Regions from separate parts of the Homo sapiens genome. Here region 2 is linked to region 1. The links are contacts of gene promoters, found by promoter capture Hi-C in human tissues and cell types (Jung and others, 2019). All regions are on one chromosome and are shown on one strand. The core of a region is centred on a gene start or on the middle of the fragment in contact, and the rest is flanking DNA. Distances in the headings are between cores, read along the strand shown. Region 1 holds the start of SPOCK3 (SPARC (osteonectin), cwcv and kazal like domains proteoglycan 3). Region 2 overlaps SPOCK3 (SPARC (osteonectin), cwcv and kazal like domains proteoglycan 3).

Evidence for each region. Contacts are between HindIII fragments. The study calls those that stand out against the background at their distance.
Region 2: a contact is called between a fragment that was not itself captured here and the fragment with the promoter of SPOCK3 in region 1, in 2 of the 25 tissues and cell types used here (hippocampus and thymus).

What each region holds. Positions count from the first base shown.
Region 1 is chr4:167,230,837-167,238,380 of GRCh38, reverse strand. SPOCK3 (SPARC (osteonectin), cwcv and kazal like domains proteoglycan 3) reads left to right here and starts at 3,887. Exons shown (of 11, transcript NM_001040159.2): 1 at 3,887-3,931; 2 at 4,208-4,396. The coding sequence starts at 4,208. The HindIII fragment of the contact is 6,194 bases long and covers 1-5,893 here.
Region 2 is chr4:167,125,397-167,132,940 of GRCh38, reverse strand. All of the region lies in intron 2 of SPOCK3 (SPARC (osteonectin), cwcv and kazal like domains proteoglycan 3), which reads left to right. Among named protein-coding and RNA genes, the nearest start is that of SPOCK3, 110 kb to the left of the region's middle. The HindIII fragment of the contact is 3,906 bases long and covers 2,181-6,086 here.

The DNA.
Region 1 (7,544 bases), core at 2,638-5,137:
CAGGGTCATCATTTGAGTCAGGGACTAAGGTGCTCATTATACAAGTGGAGCTGCTTCTGCCTAGCTTAGCAAGCTCCCTGAAGTAGCCATTCTCTCTTTTCCTGCCTTTAATTATAGATGAGTCCTAGCTCTTACTGAAATAGAGATAGATAAATAAATATGCAACAGGTGGAGAAGGAAAGATATGGGGGCAGAAGAATTAAAGAGCATAAACAGAAGATGATTCAGAGATATTTCTACATAGAGAAAAAATATCTAGAAACAAAGTAGCTTGATCATTCTCCAGAACTTTCCTTTGCACTTAGTAGCTATAGGATCTTAGGCAGTGAAGGCTAAAAGGTATCATGCATGTAAATTGCCTGGCTCTGTGTGTGGCACATGGAAGATGTGCAATAAATTGGACCTTTCCTGCATATCCTCATGTTGGTTACAGATAATGGAGTAGCATGCTTTTATAGTTGTTGGGGAAAAAAATAACCTATGAAAGACCACACCGTGTGTGTGTGTGTGCACGTTGTGCACGCATTTAAATAAATGGAGTTATATGAAGGTCATGGATCCAACCTCAAAGGCGGTTAGAAATGGACCAGCTGTCATTATATATGCTTAGCATTTTTATTTCTAGAGCTGTGTCATGTCTGAAAATGAGGGTAAGGAAACCTTCAGAAGAAATACATTTAATTAAAATAATACCTATCAAAAATGTTCCTTACATCTTTCATGATAGATATTTGTGGACTGATTTACTGAACGTTTAGAGAGAAAGAACAACTAAAGGGACAAATACACAAATATGAAAGCAAAGTTCAATCTAGCAGTGGCCTCAGCATTGGCTTTTCATAATGTATCTAAACTATGTTTCTGCATCAGGTGGCAGAATGACAACAAAGGGGCTGGGAATCTGAAGCCCTGTGTCTTGCTCTGAGTTCCAATTTTGTAAAGCATGATCTGAAAAATAAAATCAAGTCCCAGCCCTGGCACCAGCGTCTCACTTTACCCACCTCATATGCTGCACCCCACTTTCTGCGTTTTTGGCTTCTCCAGTTTTTTAGACTGGCTCTCCATCTATCTGGGAAGCAGTCAGTGAAGTATTTCTTGTCTACTCACCTACCTTGACATACAAGGCTCCTGACTACTCTCTTCCAATATCTTACTGCCCACCTAATACTCTTCCCTTATTATTCTCTGCTGTGTTTTGCTCTCAGCAAGCTTTCAATGAATCCCCACTGAGGTGATAACTGATAACCAAGGTGTTAACTGAAGTGTGAATTCTCCTAGGATTATTTAAACCTTGAAAGCAGGCTGTTTGAGGACCAAAATATTGATATATAGAGAAACTGATAGAAACCTTTCCCTGTGATTAATAACATCACAACATCACACCTACTAGACTTTGACTCTCACTACCAACATGCCCACTTAGCCTAGACAATGGCAATGGCTTGGAAAGAGAAGCTTAAGGAGCTGTAGGAGCAGTCAGGTGACTGGACCACACCAGGCCAACACAAATACACTGTAGACAGGCTCACTCTGCCTCTTTTGACTTTAGAATTTTAAACTTGCAATTTGCTAGTAAATCCTACTCTATCTTCAGATCTGTAGTTTAAAACCCTATCAAAGGCATTTCTCCCAAGATGAATTCAACTGTCATTGTTTGTTTTCAACAAATTTCACAACTTGGAGACGTCCCTGTGGAGCTGCAGTATGGGAAGCTGCCAGTGAAAGCTAGATGTGAAAACATGCTCTGAACATTGGAGAGTCAGCCACAAAATAGACGTATTTGGGGGGGAAATGCTGTATAAACATAAATATATGTGCTTCCATAAATCTAAAGGTGACCATGTTGGCCTTAGATGGTGCCAGTTATTGAGCTAAAATGTATAGCAGATGCTGAAGGGGATGAGTGTTAGAGCATTATTCCTCATCAAGTATTTTGTAGCTAATAACAACTATCTTTTTAAAAGGTAAGTTACAAAGGTTAGAAGGTCATTTTTACTTTTAGAATTACTGACTTCTGCCAAGTATCAGTTTCTTGTAAGAAACAATTTCTGTGCTTTCCCTATTAGACTTAAATTTAGAAATAATGAGGTTTTAAAACATGATGAGATATTCTTATTAATAATAAAGTATTTCTTCAAATTTTGAGGAAGAGAGCTAAGGATGAGAGTGTGGGAGGTCAAAGGACCAGGGGTCAGGAAAAGGTGATAGTGGAGAATGGACCACCTACTATTGTCTTAATAAATTTACTAAACAAGAATTTAAATATGTAAACTACATGGTAATAACCCTCTGTGAACAGGCAAAAATAAATATCTTTGAAGAATTAGCACACATCTATATTCTTAAAGTTTTCTGACATTTGTTCGTGTCAATCAGGGCTCCCATGAATTGCAGTAGTATGTTCCGTGTTTTTCTCCACTAATTGCATTCATCACTGTAGAAATGGGGGGAATTGAGAAAAACATCTTTTTCTGAGTTAAAAATAGTAATAGAAATTTCTTTCCTATATAAATATTACACTTATATTTCCTACCATACATATTATACATTTATTTTGAAATATTACATTAAAAAAGGAAATTAACATTAAACATTGAGTTTGGTCGTTTTGTTAATATAGATTGCAAAATGTTAGACGAGATTGATATGGAAAATGTGTACTGCTGCTATTCGAATAGCTTCTGAAGTTTTGGAGGCTACAAGAAATGTTCAAAGGTCGTAGCTTTGGGAGATGTAGTTTTGGCTGAAATCTCTAATAATTCAAATAGAGATTCATAATGTTATTGCAGTCTATTGGCTTGCAGACATTTCTTGATTTATGTGTAATATTCACTTCACCTAAATTCTCTAAATATGAGAGATTCTCTGTATCAGATTTTCTCTACAAGGGGCTAATTACTGATTTCCTTCCAGTTTATTTAGAATATGTAGAAACGACATGGAAAGCCAAATATTTTGTCATAAATGGAAGTTTGGAATACAAAATTGGTGTTCGGGCTTCAAAACTGTCTTATTTTGCAGGAGGGAGACAGTAGGCTTTTAAAGTTTCCGATTCAGGTTCTACGTTCTAAAATAAAGCTGCCAGGGAGTTTTTATAAAGGGAAAAATGCAGCTACAGTATGTAGGAGATATAGGTGTTCTCAAACGCCCTACCTCGTTATGCTTCTGTCTCTCAAAACAAAACACACACACACACACACACACACACACACACACACAAAGGAAAAGAAAAAAAGAAACTGCAACCTTTAACATGAAAGTTTGCTGTCGGTAGTAATCCAGAAGCTCACAGCAAACTTTAAATTTTCTGAAATTAAACAGATCTCCCAAGACCTTGTGGATAGATGGCCTTTCTTTAGGGAGGAGCTGAGTTCAGGAGCTTTACAGGGTAGGAAGTCCAGGTATTCTTATTTATTAATGCATAAAGTTTTCCTCAGATCTTGTTTCTCACGTCTGCCTGACAACCCTGGAAATTGTGGAGCAGAGGCAACTGCGAGAGATAGTACACTTTGTGTTAAATCCAGGAGCAGAGAATGAGCAGGCTGTCTCGCGAACATGAGAACCTCTTCTGGAGGGGAGAGGTTACAAAGCAGATAAGGATTCCTAGGCTAGGAGCTACCTCGTCCTCTGGCTCCAGCCAAGCGTCCTATCCGGAGCCAACTGTAGCTGGGATCCAGCGAGAGGAAGGTGGGATAGGAGGAGGTGGAAGAGGAAAAAAACGGAGGTCGGGGAGGGAGGGGGAACGGAGGGGAGTAAGCTGGAGATCCGCGCGCGAAGGGAGGGTGGAGATGGGGGGAGCGCGCCGGGCGCAGGGAGCTGAGTGGACGGCTCGAGACGGCGGCGCGTGCAGCAGCTCCAGAAAGCAGCGAGTTGGCAGAGCAGGGCTGCATTTCCAGCAGGAGCTGCGAGCACAGTGCTGGCTCACAACAAGGTGATGTGCCAGGAAGCGGTTTTGTGCCCGCTCGGGCTGCTGCGGCTGGGGCTTGCTTCCTTATACCCACCTCTCCTCCTCTGGGTCTGCGTGTGTGTGAGTGCCCGGCTTTTGGGGGTAAAGCCTGCGGGGAGGGGACACGCTTGCCTCTGCTTGTCTCCTCCTCCCTCTACCCTCGTCGTTGCTAATGCATGTTTTCCAGGGTCGCTCCTGGCTTCGTACCCCTTATTTGACACTGACATGCCCCCCCACCCCCCGTTGTGTCTCCTCTCCCAGATGCTCAAGGTGTCAGCCGTACTGTGTGTGTGTGCAGCCGCTTGGTGCAGTCAGTCTCTCGCAGCTGCCGCGGCGGTGGCTGCAGCCGGGGGGCGGTCGGACGGCGGTAATTTTCTGGATGATAAACAATGGCTCACCACAATCTCTCAGTATGACAAGGAAGTCGGACAGTGGAACAAATTCCGAGACGTAAGTTCCGCGCACCCACATCCCCGGGCACACGCGCGCGCTGCTCCGAGGCGGGGGCCGCGGCCGCCGGATGTGGGTGGGGAGTGGGCTCCGTTTTCTGAGGAGAGGGGTTTAGGGAAACGCGGCGGCGCAGGGCTGCTGGAGAAGTTCACAGTTCCGCTGCCCCCTCCCAGCTGGTTCAAGGGCTTGTTTCTTGGATGCACAGGAGTTCAGGTCTCACCAGGTTCACACTCTTCCTCCCCCACCCTGCTCTCCCCTGTGCCCCCTCCCGGCCCACAAAGGTTACAAAGTGCTGGCTCTAACCTCTCAACTTTTGAATGGTGTTTCTGGCACTGGTAAACACAGCAGATGTGCCTTTGCGATGTATCGCTACTAAAGTAACTAGGATCGATCCTGTCACTAATGGTCCATTAAGGAATTTGAGGGAGGAGGTAGGAAGATGTAAGATTTATAAATGCCCGCTCTCCAAGGGTGGGAGGATGTTTGGCGGCACCAGTAAGGACTCGTTGAACGCTCCCGCTTACATAAAATTGTCGATCAGATTTGTGCTTCGACATGACTTTAATCTAGAACATCTTTGCAATGCATTTGATTATATTTTATTCCAAAATGAATCACTGCCTTGAACTCTGCGGGAAGAGGTTGCGAGGGCGGGAGGATTGCAGGTGACAGCGATAAAAGAGTTAAACCATAGACTCCCCTGGGGAGTTTTCAAAAGGGTTATTAAGAGGGAGCCAGGTTTCCACACTTGAAGCTAGTGGCCATGGCTTGCCAGTCATTTTTATTTTCCTCACCTGATCTGAATGGAGCCCAGTAAGAGCTGCTCACGTACAGAGCACGATACAACTGGAAGCCTTGAATTTGGTTGTCCCAGTGAGGAGGCCGCCCTGTTGGCTGAATACCGCCCCTAGCCCACCCTTTAAAACGCGGAAGGCCTGAACTGGAGCGAGAGTGGTTCCTAGACACATTGCCAATCCTTACCGTGACATTTGAGAGAATTTCTCGTGGAGTCCATCTGCAGTGCACTACGTGGAGATGAGTTAACTTCTTTCATCAGCTCCGACTCAGTCACCATTTAGGAAAATAAAAGGGAGCCTAGGCTAGCTTTCATCCTGCCTCCTCTAACCCATTCTCTCAGCCTCTCCATGAAGTAGCTGACAAGCCAAATCTAGCAGAGGGATTCCTGAAGAAACACAAATTTTTACTTTAAAATTAGGTTTAGCCATTTGATTGAGAATATTTAATGGAGAACCTTGCCTACATACTTCATGAACAAAGCTTAAGCATCATTTTATTGCTAAATAAATGCCCTTATAAAAGCATACCCGTTGCATATTTGTTTTAAGTTTACACCAATATTGAGTACAAGCAAAAAGGATAGCGAGTGAGATATTCCTAAACCTAAAGAAAATTTGTTTATCATGCCCTCATTTGGCAAAATCAAAAACAAAAACGAAAATTGAACACTTCATCAGTATTTGAACAGTGTTTGACATTATGACATTTCATTATTTAATGGCTGCTTTAAAATCTTCTAGAAATGAATTTTTGAAAGACCTCCCAACAATGGGATATATTTAGTAGGTAATACTGGTTGCATGCTGTTTTCTATTTGTTTTGGGTTTTTTTTTTTTTTAATAAAATCAACTACACAAGATTCCTCGCTGGGAGAATTGTAAGAGTATTACTATCTTCAATGAGAGCAGAGATAAAAGCTTTCTTCTCTAAAATGTATTTTAAATTTTGAATAACTTAGTATTCTCTTATTTTATTCAAATTACTTTATTAAATTATTGAGGGACTTGGACAGTTTGTGAATGTGTTTGACTTAAACTATTGAGACAAGCTGAGTTGCCTACTATAGAGCTAAATATGCTAGAATTTATGGAGTCAATTTCTATAGAGATGGAGATTTTATTGCTATATCATTCTCAGTTATTCTAGGATCTCAAGGAAAAAGTCCATCAAAATTGTACATAAATTTTAAAAAGGATTTACTGATACATTTTATGCAAATATCTGTTTTGAAGTATATGCAACACCTAAAAATAAATATTGATTTATTTGAAAAACTTTCATCAGGTTTTAGTATTACCATTTTAGTAAGACAGTTATGTTTTTGCAAAGATGACTTCTGGAGGGAATGGAGCGGATAAATGCCATCATTTTTTACCCTTGAACCACCTGTTGCTTATTATTAACATGATGAAAGGTATGCTGACAGTGTGGTTTCTCAAATAATAATTCAGAATGCATAATATATAATCCTTATCTAGACCATCCACCCCACTGCTATTTATGTATATTCTTTCCCTTTTGGGGAATCATTAGCTTAATAATCTTTTCTGTAGCTCTCAGGATGTTATTTTTCAGTTGGTTTTCAGCTGGAAGCACATGGCGATAAGGCATTACTTGAAATAATACTATACTGCATGAATCTACCTTTAAATGTTCTGCATGAGCATTCATATCTCAAATAATGATTTATGTACTCACTTTATATGAGGGCAAAGAAACATGGAATTCTGAACCTCTTATTTGAGAAACAATTTAACTGAAGTACTTTTGTGCTTTTTTCCCATAAAATATAATTAATTTTATTTATACAAAAGCCTTGGAAAGCATCAGCATAATTATTGCTTGGATTAATCCTTATGATTATTTTTTCTTCCGAAGTGACTGTTTTACATAATCAGCACTGTTTAACAAGTGACTCCTTAATGAAAGTTTGAACTGTTCTTTCTTTTGAAATACATTTTAAAAGTATCTTAAATAATATTTAAAAATACAATTTAGCATTATATTTTAATTGAATAATTTTAAAAATAAATGTTACTCTTTATATATTTGTAATATACGTATGTAAATATAATTGATTTACAATAAAGCTTTAGGAACAAAGAGCATGGATAGAGTTACGAGAGAGTAGGTGAGCATAAAAACTACTGCCGTTGAGGCTCATTTTCTTGATTTCCTCAATATAAATGCTAAAGAAGCAATGAAAGCAAAGACAAGCTTACAGTGAATAGGTATTAACACAGGAGAAACAAGCTTGCAATGAGTAGGTGTTAACACAGGAGAAACCTCAAGTATTTTTGACTGCTCTATGCTAGCAATGTCTGTTGAATAAAGTTTGTTACCTTTGTTG
Region 2 (7,544 bases), core at 2,884-5,383, 110 kb after region 1:
TTATCTTGATTGGAAGAAAGGATTTTAGCAGATGACATTAAGGACCTTGAGAAGAGGAGGCCATCCTTGATTATCCAAATCCAATGGCATGTGTGTATATATAAGAGACACACAGATGAGACACATGCAGAAGAAGGAGAAAGTGTGTAGATGGAGGCAGAGATTGGAGTGAAGTGGTCACAAGCCAAGGAATGCCAGGGTTTACGGGCAGCTATCCGAAGCTAAGAGAGAGGTAAAGAATGGATTTGTTCCCCTAGCTTCTGCCAAGGCTTTGATTTGTGGCTTCTGGCCTCCACTACTGAATAAGAATACATCTCTAGTTTCAAGCCACCTAGCCTTTGGTAATTTGTTACAGTAGCCAAATGAAAGCAATATAGTCTCTAAATTTCAAAGTTCAGAAATATCCTTCAAAGGCTAAGGACTTTTTAAAGGAGATTAAAATAAATAACTTTTGATAGTTATCTATTTCATAAACTGTAACTGTATAATCTTAAAGACCTTAACATGCTAAGACATGTCTTTAAAAAAATACACAGAACTTTCATCTCTAGAGACATGATTTGTCATTTATGATATTTGGCTTGTCTTCTGTGATAACAATTGAAAGATAAATGCTTGGTCTCTGATATGAAATGTTTTAGAAGTTGAATGATTTTCTATAGCATTAAAAAGAGTTGACTGTAGTTCTGCTATTGATGATTTAAGCAAAGTAAATTTATAAATATCTTGTGTTTGTATTGGTTGAATTCAAATGATTTTTAAGAGAAGGGATAGAGTGGATATGACATCATTTATCCTAGGTGAAAAATACAAAACTTTTTTAAAAATTCACATGAAATGTGTCTTTAAAAGAATACTTAATAAGGGAGGTAGGTGATTATTTATTGGTGTTGGTATTTGTTTCTCAGTCTTTACAAATTTTCTTGGAGAGATGCTAGATAAAAAAGTAACATTCAAATATAAATACCTGGGCTTCACTAAAACTTTCCAGGGAAACAACCATATACTTACAAATGTCCTAAAATATTATAGAAATACAAATATGGAACAGATTTTTCTTAGGTTTTGAGATTCATAGTACTTATACTTCATGGGTTGGTTTGTTCTGTTTCTCATAATTTCTCTTGCAGCGTTAAAAAAATTCTATTCAAGCTTTTGAAAATGTTTAAATTGCTTTCAAATGAAAATAGTGGCATGGTGAAAATGATTGAGAAAACCATACACAAAGACTTTAAAACAGAATGGTCTACAGTTAACAGAGAAGTGAAGGGATTAGGACTGTTATCTGTATACTCCCAGGTTTTTGTTGTTGTTGTTTGGTTTTGGTTTTTTTTGTGGGGGACGGAGTCTTGCTCTGTCGCCCAGGCTGGAGTGCAATGGCGTGATCTCAGCCCACTGCAATCTCCGCCTCCCAGGTTCAAGTGATTCTCCTGCCTCAGCCTCCCAAGTAGCTGGGATTACAGGTGTGTGCCACCACAGCCAGCTAATTTCACACCCAGCTAATTTTTGTATTTTTAGTAGAGATGGGGTTTCACCATGTTGGCCAGGCTGGTCTTGAACTCCTGATCTCAGTTGATTCACCGTCTCAGCCTCCCAAAATGCTGGGATTCTAGGTGTCAGCCACCATGCCCAGTCCTACTCCTAGTTTTTGATGTCATAGTGTAGCACATTTTATCTTTGGTTGAGTTCATTTTTAAAAAGTTTATTTTTAATAATTTAATTCTTAATGTGATAGAGAAAGTGGCAAAACTTTAGCTATGGACAATGAAAATAAAGTAATCCTGGCTATGTCACTCACCATGAGATCTTGTTCATGTCTCGGTGTGTTTGTACAATTAATTTAGTAATATTTTTAAAAACCTTGAACCTTAGATTTATTCAACTAATATACATTTAGAATATCAGGTCTATTAAGGTTTGTTAATTTTTGATCACCATTTGGTCTAGAGTCTTGAACTCTACCTAACATCAATATAATTGCTTAACAAAAATAGATATGAATGACATCTCTAAGCTATTTATTAGTAATATTTCCCTCTGGAATTAAGACATCTTTTAAGTAAAGATCATATTTTAGTATCTTGAAGCATATTTTAATCTAAATTTTTCTAGTGACATGGTTTATAATACAGTATTTTGTGATTCAGTCCTTTGCTTGTAATTCTTATATTCTGATTGACTGTAAGACAAAACTGATTTTATGTAGCATTTCTAGTGGAGAAATTGTTAGTCATACCTTGTAAATGTCTAACTGTCTTACTTGGACTGGGTTTTTTTTAACTGCCATTTTTTGATAATTATATTGATTTTACACAGATGAATGTGTTTAGTTGCAAACTGCTGGTGGAAAGATGTTTATATTAAGTACAAAAACATCTAAATTAAATAGTATTTTTTATTTTAACTTTCACAAATGACATATTAGGTTAAAATATGGGTAATGAGTATGAGCCATCAGAAATTTTTAGGCATTATATCTAATGGCTTGACTTCTTTGTTTTCTCTATATTGACTTTGCCTCTTATTCTTATATTCCATATATTACCCACTAGTTATGTAAAATATGCTTTTTTCCAGTAAATAAAAAAACTCCAAATTTTTATGTCTAATTTAAATATATTTAACTTTGATAATTAAAAATTAAAACAATCTATTATTTTTAAAATATTTGATTTGCCTGGGTACAGTGGCTCAAGCCTGTAATCCCAGTGTTTTGGGAGGCTGAGGCAGGAGGATTGCTTGAGGCTGGGAGTTTGAGACCAGGTTGGGCAACATAATGAAAACCTCTCTCTACAAAACTGAGAAGCTGAGCGGGGAAGACGGCTTGAGCCCAGGAATTGAAGGCTGCAGTAAGCTATGATTATGCCACTGCACTCCAGCCTGGGTGACAGAGCAAGATCCTATCTCAAAAAAAATTTTTTTAATTAACCTTATTTTTGGAAAACATAATTGGAAATATGTTTTTGCCTTAGAGTGTTAAATATAGATGTCACCAAAACACCCTCTCATGACAAGATAGCTTCCAGATTTTCACTGTGGAGATTAAATCAAAAACTGTGCAAGTTGAGCATAAGAAATTTTAGTGCAACTTTAAATAATATATATCTCACCCTTTTATGCAGTTTCAAAACTGACAGTTTTTCTCCTTCCATTATGACAAATTTATATTTTATTTTTTATCTAGGTTCTTTCACTGTGAAATACAAGCTTCTAAATTTACGTATTCTCAAGTCCATAGGTTTAAGTGCATTTGCTGACTACATGTTTTATGATTCTACATAGCAGTTTGTGCTTTAACTATAATATTTTTAAAAATATCATTGTATTTGGAGTGACAAGGAAATGAAGAAATATTATATCTGAAAAAAAAAGAAAGAAACAGAATGTCTGAAATTACAAAAGGAATAGACCAAAAGTATACAAGAAAGAGATTGCTCAAGCACTAAACAGAATGGGATGAAACAGATGAAATAGAACACTAGCAAGGAGAAACTCCAGTGTCCTGTGCCTGCCTCAGTAAATAGATGATTCTGGAGACAGGGCACCAGATAAGAGTGTGTTGCCAGTAATATTCCCCAGGGCTGTTTTTAGTAAGTCCAGAGCTAGCACATTGGCACTTAAGCCAGGTATCTGATACTCTACAGCCGTATTTCTCAAACTTGGACCTCCATCTGATTCATGTAATGGGATGCTTAAAATGCAGTTTGCTGAGCCCTATCTTCACAGTTACTTATTCAGTAGATCTGGGGCAGGACTTGAGAATCTGCATTTCTGAAGTCTTTGTGGGTGATGCTGATTATGCTTTTACATGTCTCAAAGGCAGTACGTTGAGAACCACTACTCTGTGTCATTCTCAGTCTTGTACCTCTCCTGGTGTGTTTGTCTTAGGAGATGTTGTCAGTGGCCAGCAGCCCCTGAATCAAGGGTATAGAGCAGGAACACAGTACACTCTCAGGGTCATTTCTCATCAATGCATTTCACTCCACAGTCTGGTAGGGTTTGGAAATGGCCCAGGTGCCCACAATAATACAATAAACCCCATCCATCACCCTGGAATCCTCCATTCAGGGTGGGCCACGAGGGAGACTGTTGGGAATGGATGTTCTTGGTAAACCTAACAGAAGAGACAAACTGAGCAGGCAGAGTGGACTTTAAATTCCTTCATGTAGAGGGGTGATTAGGAGGAGAACAAATGGCAATACTAGTTTCCAACCCTTTGAATGAGAACTTTTTTGCTTATCTGTGGTGGCAGGTATCACGAAAATGTTGCACAGACCTTTTGTTTAGCTCATCAGCTATCATTAGTGTTAGTGTATTTTATGTGTGGCCCAAGACAATTCTTCTTCTTCAGATGTGGCCCAGGGAAGCCAAATGGTTGAACACTGTTTGTCTTCTCTGGGCCACAGTATATGAACACCTCCATATGCTATACGGGAATGGGCAGTAGGCACAAGTAAGAGACAGGGAGATAAATATTGAGAAGAAGATGAGGACCACTACTTTTTTTGCACAAAGTAATAAATGGTGGTGTACCCAAAATTCATGTGGAGAAAACTAAGAAGAGAGGTAAGTGATCTACAGTGTTAGATGTTACAGAGAGGTCCAGTAAGATGAAGGGTAAAAAGCCTTTGTTTGGCAATAAAAGAACTAACTTTGGGAAGAGTTTGGTGAAGTGGTCTTGGTAGAAGCAAGGTGGTTTTGGGCTTAGGAATGAATGAGAGGAGGTGTAAGGAAAGAGTTTTTCAATGTGCTTGAGTATTCGGGGAAAAAGTGAGAAGGTCTATCTAAACAATTTTGCAATTTATGCATGGAAAAGAAGCTTGAACAATTTTATCTGCTGAAAGCAAAGATCTAGTAAAGAGAGAGTTTGAAGAACAAGAAGGAAAGAGGTAATTAATTATTGGAGAGGAAGGTGATAATTGATTCTGCAAGTTCTTTTGGGAAGTGAGAGAGGCCCAGTGTCCAGAGCACCAAGGGAGCTATTAAACGTCTAATGCTGTTTCAAAGGTCTTCCTCTGACTGTTGTCACAAGTGTATGGTAATTTATTTTGATAATTTCGTTATACCTCTTCTATAATGGGAAACCAAAGTTTGAAGAAGTTTAGGAGAATTTATTTTCTTCTCAACTTTTTCAGATCTTTGCTATTTATCATCACTCTATTTTTGTCCACTTCTATAAATGAATAATTGGTTACCAATTAAGAAATTTTCCAGGCTGTGCATGGTGGCTCACGCCTGTAACCCCAGCACTTTCGGAGGCCGAGGTGAGTGGATCTCCTGAGGTCAGGAGCTCAAGACCAGCCTGGCCAACACGGTGGAACCCTGTCTCTACTAAAAATACAAAAATTAGCTGGGCGTGGTGGCAGGCGCCTGTAATCCCAGCTACCTGGGAGGCTGAGGCAGGAGAATTGCTTGAACCCGGGAACCAGAGGTTGCAGTGAGCCGAGATCATGCCATTGCACTTCAGCCTGGGCGACAGAGTGAGACTCCATCTCCAAAAAAAAAAAAAGAAAATTTCCAACAATCTTTTCCCCAACAACCTTTTAGGTGGCTTATTTTTTTTTCTGTAATATAAAAAAGTAGTTTTTTTCTGTAATATAAGAAAGTAGTCTTGGCAATACAACTAAGTACAGAAGAAATCAGTTCGACTTGATTGTGTATGTGTGTGTGTTTTTGGTATCCTGTATTTGTCAAAGCAAATTAGTATCTGTTGACACATATGAGGCAAAATAAAGTACTAATACTTGATTTTGAGTCAAATCTTACTACTATTGTTCATAAATACTTTATTGGAAACCTTTATAACATATCTCCTTTTAAGCTTAATTTTCCCTTCTAAAATATCAATCAATCAGTCAATCAATTCTCCTCACCCAATTGTCTATTCTATTGCTGGTCCATAATGGTCCGAGCCATTCATCACCAGGACACGTCCTGGCTGTACTTTGCAGTATGATGGTAAAGTTGCCAGAAGAAGAGAGAGGGGGAATACATAGGCCCAGGCACAGGGCAGGTTTCTTTGGTTTTGTTTTCTACCAGCAACAGTATGAGATTTTGTGAGTAGGGAAAAGTGAGGGGTGGAAGAGGAACCAGAGGCTGAAATGGAAGTTGAAGTAGGGTTGAAATGCCTGGAACAGATAAAATAAAATTAAACAGATTTTGCTGGTGTTACTGCGTATGTGGTTTTCTAAAAGGATAAGTTGTGTGCTAATTAGGACTTGATTGTAAGGATAAAAGGCTGGCACACTTAGGTGAGCTCAGGTATAGTGGGCCTGAGAAGAAGACCATTGTCTATTTTAAGGATTTTTTTTTTTTGTATTGCAGGGGTTGGAAATTCATAGGTATATAAGCTTATCAATATGTTGGCAATGAACTTTTTTTGTTTGTTTTTTTGACAGAGTTTGACTCTTGTTGCCCAGGCTAGAGTGCAATAGCATGATATCGGCTCACTGAAACCTCTGCCTCCTGGGGTCAAGCAATTATCCTGCCTCAGCCTCCCAAGTAGCCAGGATTTCAGGTGTGCACCATCACGCCCAGCTATTTTTTTGTATTTTTAGTAGAGACGGGGTTTTGCCAAGTTGGCCAGGCTGGTCTCGAACTCCTGACCTCAGGTGATCCACCCACCTTGGCCTCCCAAAGTGCTGGGATTACATGTGTGAGCCACAGCGCCCGGCCTACAATGAACTTATTGTGAGGTCTTCACAGACTTGTCCAGTCAGACTGTGGACTGACTGACCTTACCGTAGGTGTCAAACATTGTGCTTGATGTAGGGTTAGGAGTTAAGAGTTTGGGCAGACTGTTGCCTCTTTTAATCCAATAACAATTTTCACTCTTTTCTTTTTTAAGCTGGGTGTATAGTAACCTAGAATAAGTATATATTTTCAAGCCTCTGTTGTGGTTAGGTGTATTTTGTACCTGTTATTGCCAATAGGATATGAGTAAAAATAAAGTGTGTAACTTCTGGATTGTGCTCTTGAAGAGAAAGGAGGTCATGCCCTCCATTTCCCTTTTCCTTTCTTCCTTGCAACTGTAAATCGGAAATAATAATTGTGGGATCATCTTAGAACATGAAATGAAGCCAAGATGTTGAAGGTGATAGAGCAATCAGAAACAGCATCAGTCACCAACACTGTCAAACTGAACTACTATTTCTGCATCCTCTGAGTGATCTCCTACATGAAAGAAAGAAATGGAGGGTTTTTAATTTTTATTTATTTATTTTTTTGAGACGGAGTCTCCCTCTGCTGCCGGGGCTGGAGTCCAGTGGCGCGATCTTGGCTCATTGCAAGCTCCGCCTCCCGGGTTCACGCCATTCTCCTCCCTCAGCCTCCCGAGTAGCTTGGGACTACAGGCGCCCGCCAACACGCCCGGCGAATTTTTTTATATTTTTAGTAGAGACAGGGTTTCGCCGTGTTAGCCAGGATGGTCTCAATCTCCTGACCTCATGATCCGCCCGCTTCAGCCTCCCAAAGTGCTGGGATTACAGGCGTGAGCCACCGCGCCCGGCCGGGGGTGTTTTTTTTTTTTAAGCACCGTTTTATTT